Linked DNA regions of Homo sapiens: region 1 is linked to region 2. The links are contacts of gene promoters, found by promoter capture Hi-C in blood cells and fetal thymus (Javierre and others, 2016). All regions are on one chromosome and are shown on one strand. Each heading gives the region's core, a stretch centred on a gene start or on the middle of the fragment in contact. The rest is flanking DNA. Distances are from core to core; before and after follow the strand shown.

The links. Contacts are between HindIII fragments. The CHiCAGO score rates a contact against its expected background, and 5 or more counts as called.
Region 1: a fragment that was not itself captured here is called in contact with the fragment with the promoter of TRIM44 in region 2 in 1 of 17 cell types (non-activated CD4 T cells); the score reaches 5.9 in non-activated CD4 T cells.

The regions. Positions count from the first base shown.
Region 1 is chr11:32,581,117-32,584,256 of GRCh38, reverse strand. EIF3M (eukaryotic translation initiation factor 3 subunit M) reads right to left here and starts at 426. Exons shown (of 11, transcript NM_006360.6): 1 at 328-426. The coding sequence starts at 369. RefSeq lists enhancers at 271-420, 63-715 and a silencer at 581-640. The HindIII fragment of the contact is 1,283 bases long and covers 712-1,994 here.
Region 2 is chr11:35,661,240-35,664,355 of GRCh38, reverse strand. TRIM44 (tripartite motif containing 44) reads right to left here and starts at 1,581. Exons shown (of 5, transcript NM_017583.6): 1 at 576-1,581. The coding sequence starts at 1,244. RefSeq lists enhancers at 893-1,393, 1,605-1,924 and a silencer at 1,185-1,564. The HindIII fragment of the contact is 12,326 bases long and covers 1-2,558 here.

The DNA.
Region 1 (3,140 bases), core at 104-2,603, 3.1 Mb after region 2:
TCCCACTCCGAATGTGGCTGCATTTGACGGACGGAAGCAGACATCATTCCTCATCAGTCTAAAAGTACTATGTCGTCAGAAATGAGTCCCGACGCCGACCAGGGAGCTGGCGGTGAAGCGTCGGGCCCCGCGCTGGGACCGCCGGCCGGCGAGCTGGTGCGAATCGAGGCCAGGAACGCGCGCCCCAGCCACCGGCCTCCCCATTCTCGCGTGTAGAACAGCTGCGGGTGTCAGCCCCGGCCGCCCGGCCCAGGCTCGGCAGCGGTCCCTTGCGCTACTAGGACATCCCCCACCCCACCGTGGCGGCACCCGTAGACCGAAGCACACCTGATCTTCTTCACTGATGTCGATGAAGGCCGGGACGCTCATGGTGCAGGCCCGGGCACAGCGGACACTCCACTCGCAAGACCACGCCGACCGGAAAAGGGAACTGGGCCGCGCGACGCTGCTGGCGCAACTGCTTCCGGGTCACCCTGAGCGGCGACCTGTTGGGGCGGGGCCTTGAGAGCCAATCCTATCGCGCGCTCTCGCCGCGGAATGCAGCAGGGCGTGGCAGACGCGCTCGGGCTGGCCTAGTGGGTGGGACTTACTGGGCCTCCACTCAGCGACGCTTGTCGCGGCCTCCAGTTTTCAGGCCCGTGTAGCTAACTGCATTGATGTTGCCTCCCGCTGGCGCCTCCCTAAGTCCACCTTCCCTTGAAATGTTAAGCTTGTTGGGTCTTACCAAGTATGGATGGGTTTGTGTAGACCTGAAACTCTCCTGTACTGCTGTTGGGAACATAAAATGGTGCAGTCACTTTGCAGAGGAGCGGCAGTTTCTGAAAAAGTTCAGTATCCACCCAGCATATGACCCAGCTATTCTTCTACCCAAACTGTATGTCCGTACAAAGACTTGTACAAGAATGTTCATTGCCGCTTTTAAAAAATAGCAGCTTTGGCTGGGCGCAGTGGATCTCACGCCTGTAATCCCAGCACTGTGGGAGGCCGAGGTGGGCGGATCACTTGGGGTCAGGAACTGGAGACCAGCCTGGGCAACATGGCAAAACCCCGTCTCTACTAAAAATACAAAAATTACCGGGGCATAGTGGTGCGCGCCTGTAATCCCAGCTACTCGGGAGGCTGAGGCAGGAGAATCACTTCAACCTGGGAGAAGGAGGTTGCAGTAAGCCCAGATCATGCCACTGCATTCCAGCCTGGGCGACAGAGCGAGACTCCGTCTCATAAAATAAATACACAATTCAGTAGTTTTTAGTATTTTCAGAGTTGCACAACCATCACTACTATTTAATTTTAGAACATTTTCATCACCTACAAAAGAAACTACCCATCAGCAATCACTCCCCAGACCCCCGGCCCCACCTCTCTCCAGCCCCTGGCAAACACTACATTTTGTCTCTATGAATTTGCCTTTTCTGGACATTTCATGTAAGTGGAATCACAAAATACACGGTGGCCTAAGTCAGACTTACTTCATTTAGCATAATGTTTTCAAGGTTCGTCCATGTATCCCTCCTATATTCCTATTTATTGCTTATAATATTGCATTGTTATGGATATACCACATTGTGTTGATTTGTTCATCAGTTGGTGGACACTTGGGTTGTCTCCATTTTTTGGCTATTATGAATAATGTTTCCATGAACGTTAGTGCACAAGATTTTGTGTGTACGTATATTTCTCTTAGGTATGTACCTATGAGAGGAATCAGTGGCTTATTTAGTAAATTTATGTTTAGCTTTTTCAGGAGACAGTTTCCAAAAAGTTAACACTTTATTTTCAATAGCCAAAAAAAAGGAAACAACCCAAATGTTCATCAATAGATGAATGAAGTGGATCAAAAAATTGTTATACATCTGCTTAATGGAATACTGCTGTGCAACAAAAAAGGATGAATTATTGATACATGCAAAAACACAGATGAATCTTTTTTTTTTTTCAGTCTCTTCAGCCTGGGTGACAAAGTGAGTGAGACTCCATCTCTTAAAATAAAAGCTTGATTTTTTTTCTTTAGTTGACAATCCCAAAATAATTCAAAATAATTTTGTTCAGTTAATCATCATACTGTATGATTCCATTTATATAAAACTCTAGAAAGTAGAAACTATAATGACAGCATTATAGATTGCTGTTGCCTGGGGGCAGGGATTGGGTAAGGCGGGGGGAAAGATGGATACAGAGGGGCTTGAGGAAGTTTTTGGGGGTTATGGATGTGTTCATTATTTTGACTGTGATTGTGTCATGATTGTATACATATATAACATTTTTCAAAGTGTGCAGTTCAAAAATGTGCAGTTTATTGATACCACAATTATACTTCAATATAAAATAAATGCCAAGCAAAGGAAAAAAACAAGGTTGAGGGGATAGAGGACACAAAACATCTGGCTAGACTAAATTTGAAAGGATTCATTCTTGCATGGAATAGCCTTAACAATGTGGAAAGTGAAACTGAAGGCAGGGAACCTGTGTCATGTTCACCCTGCATTTCCGCACCCACCTCAGTGCCCAGCCCACAGCAGATCATCAGGAAATACCAGTTGATTCTGAAGGAATAATCCCTGGGCTCCTCCCCTCGCCTTATTATTGCAAAGTTCGAGGAATACAAACTCAACAATACAATACCATTTTATCAAATATTTAAAAGACTTGTCTCTTTTTTACTATTGTTATTTTTTTTTTCATTCTGTGATCCTTGTGAAGTAAAAGAACACCCAGGGAAATTCTTGAGAGAGGATATGGACAGTTATTTAAAACTTTAAACTTTCATTCATTCAAAATAAACACACACACACACACACACACACACACACACACACACACACGATGGAGGTGTGGTAGGCCCGAGTAGTCTTGGGAAATGCAACATTTGAGTAGGAAATGCGGAAATGCCTGTCCTCAGTTATTTAAAACTTTAAACTTTCATTCATTCAAAATAAACACACACACACACACACACACACACACACAGGATGGAGGTGTGGTAGGCCCGAGTAGTCTTGGGAAATGCAACATTTGAGTAGGAAATGCCTGTCCTCACCTAGGTCAGGATGAATCTTGTGAGACAAAGTAGCAAACCTAAGAAGGAATGTTTGCTCATTCTGTTTGCCAGAGAATTTCGCAAAGCCCCTGACTCAGTGAGT
Region 2 (3,116 bases), core at 332-2,831:
GGGAACTTCCACTCCCACCCCAATTTGGCCTCCATCTTCTTACCCTCCTTTTCTACTAAGTTTCAAACACGAAGAATCTAAAATGAACTCGGGGCACATATGAAGTTACTATTAAAACTATTTTGTTAGTCTTTTCAATGCAGACGTATCACTTGCTTGGATTCATGTGGCAAAATCCTATTTCCCATGTTTTCAAGTAGGCAAAAAGATTGCCTTATCAAGAGCCCTAGCACAAAGCACCAGTTTCAACAATAGTGATGCTGTGGAAATTGGCCTAAGTGGGGTCAAAACTCCCAAGAAATGCTTTACCTGGGATCCACAGACCAGAAACTTGCAATTTTCTAGAAATTGTATACTAGATTTTGTGTGTATTTTCTCAGGTCAGAGTCCAGAACTTTCATCAGATTCTCAAAAGAGTTCAACCAAAAACGGTGAATAAGAACTGCTCCCAAAAAGTTGGAAAGACTAGCTTCTTAGGGACACAGTGAAAGCGAATGTGGTCACAGCCAGGCCACCTGAGTTGAAACCCAGGTGTCCTGACCCCTAGGTTTATGCTCTGAAGGCCCAATACTTACTCTTAATTCTTCAAAGGCTTCGTCTAGGGTGGAGAGTTGGTGGCCCTGGTGAGCCCCAATGACTGGACACAGGACACAGATGAGCTGCCTATCTTCCTGGCAATAGGTACTCAAATCAAGCCCATGGTCCGGACACTTCCTCTTGGCCACTCTCTCTGCTTCCATTTCTATTTCTGGGTCAAATTCACTTTCTGCCTCAGTTTCTCCCTCCGCCTCGGATTCCCCTTCTTCTTGGTTGTCTTCTTCGGCCTCGCTTTCTTGCTCATCCTCCATTTCTTCCTCGCTGTCTTCTTCACTCTCCTCATCGCTCTCATCCTCACTCTCTTCCTCTGTCTCGCTCTCTTCCTCTGACTCGCTCTCTTCCTCCGACTCACTCTCTTCCCCTGCCTCGCTTTCTATCTCCCTCTCCTGCTCCACCTTGACCTCCGCTTCTTCCTTCCCCGCCCCCTCTCCGTCAGCTGGCGGGGTCCAGGCCTGGGAGCCGTGGACGTATTCGGCCAGATGGTGACTGAGGAACTTCTGCCTGTGCGCCTCGGCATGGCGGCGGCAGTAGCAGAAGCCGCATTCTCGGCACACTTCCTCGGCCCCCGGAGCCTCGTCGGGCTCGCACTCGTCACACGTGCCGTCGTGAGGCAGTTCCTCGAAGGCCGCGCCCACTCCAGAGGCCATGTGGGTGCTGTGACGCGGCCAAGGCCTCGGGGCCCCGGGGCTCGCCGCCTTCCTTCCGCGCGGCCTCACTTCCTCCTCCCGCCCCGGGTCCCTTCCTAGGGAGTCGCCTCCCGCCTGGACCGCGCCGCGTCTCGAAGCGGGACCTGGGGCCGCGGCAGCCCCTGCCCGGGCGCAGCAGCAAAGACCCTTTCCGCCGGCTCGGCCTGCTCCGCTCTGTCCCTGCGCTTCCTCTGCCGCGCAAGGCACTTCCGGCGCGGCCACCCGGCGCCCCCGTCGGCCCCCGCGTCGCGCCGCCCGCTCAGCCTCCCGCTACCAGGGAGAGATCGCGGCAGCCGCCGGCCCCCGCGCCGCCCCGGTTCCACTTTCCCTTTCCCCGTCAGGAGGCCTCCTTTTACTTCCTGAGTCATTTAAAGTGGCAATGACCCTTTTCTGCTTTTCCCGCGGGGCTCAGCTCCTCCGCTCCAAATCTCAGCGTGCCTTGGAGGAGGAGGAGGGAGAAGGAGGATGGAGGAAGTCTCTTACTCTCTCCAGAAGCAGGAATTGGGCTCCACCTCCCCCATTCCCTCCCTGGAAGTGTCAACTTGAGTTTTCACGGCCACTAGGCTGGTGTCCCTGTGCATTTCAGTCTCTCTTGTGCCAATTTGTCGCCGCCCGTCACAGTCCCCAGTGTTCTGCAAGGTGCCCGGACAGTGTTGTTTACCAGACTGAACCTGACCTCTTGGGATTTCCTGAGTGCGGAAGGGCTATGTTTGTTCTAGGCTAGGGGAATTGGAGTTAGGATGAGCAAACAAATATTTTCGATCCAAAGCAATACTGTGCTTTGTCTATTTGCATTGCTACCTCCTAGGATCTCAGAATTTCTGGGGTGGTAACCTCTGTGCGGTTTTCTGAGAGCTGCCTTCGGTTGGGCAGAGACGTCAGGTGAAGTGAGGTGGGGAGAGGCAGTATTTGTCGAGTGACAGGTCCAGGTTGCAGTCATTTTCCTTTATGTAAGGTGTCCCTCTAGATTCCCACTGGGCTCTAAGAGAAAAGAAGGGAACTGTTGTTTATAAAGCAGTACTGTAGTGCCAAGAACCCGGCTACATCTTTTTGTGGCTCTTTAAAAGCCGGTTTTGGAAGATCCTCTGCCCGATGGTCCCCAAATCCTGGTGCCACTACCTATCAGTTTTATGACCATGGACAAGTTAATTCATCATTCTGTTTTCCGCTTTTTAAAAAAGATGTTAAGTGAAAAGAACGGTAAATATCTACCTCATGGGGTAGTTTTGTGGATTAAATGTAACGATGCCTGCACTGTAGAGTATTCACTAAGCTTTCATTATTATTTTTGGCACAAATTATATTTAGTGCTCACAATGCCCCTTTGAAGGAACATATTTTACACACACAGGGCATTTTCGGCTGGCTGCTGGTAATGTAGGCAAGTCTCCACCTCTACCCCATATCCATGTCTCTCCATTCACAGAAGAGTTTTTGTTTTGCACTGTATTTGGGAGAGGGAAAATTACGTTTTTATCTAGTCAAGGGAGAGGCTGAGGTGTATTAAGAAGGATGAAAGGGGATGGAATGGTGTCTGTTTTACATTGATTCCCTTAGATGATTTTGAGTTAGAATTTCCAGATGCTTTCCTCAAACATACCAGGGGATGAGGTGGGGTAAAAAAACCTTTTTAATAGTTTTTAATGTCTCCATGGATAATGTATGCCTAATCTTTGTGCAGCTTTTGTTAGATATTTATTTTTTAGAAACCTTTCTTTTTAACCTCAGAACAATTCTATACAATGTTGAAAAAAATCAGGTTTATTTTGTTCCAATTCCATACACATTTCTGTTTTCCCCCAGCTCATTTCTCTGGAAATTATTTCTGTGTCT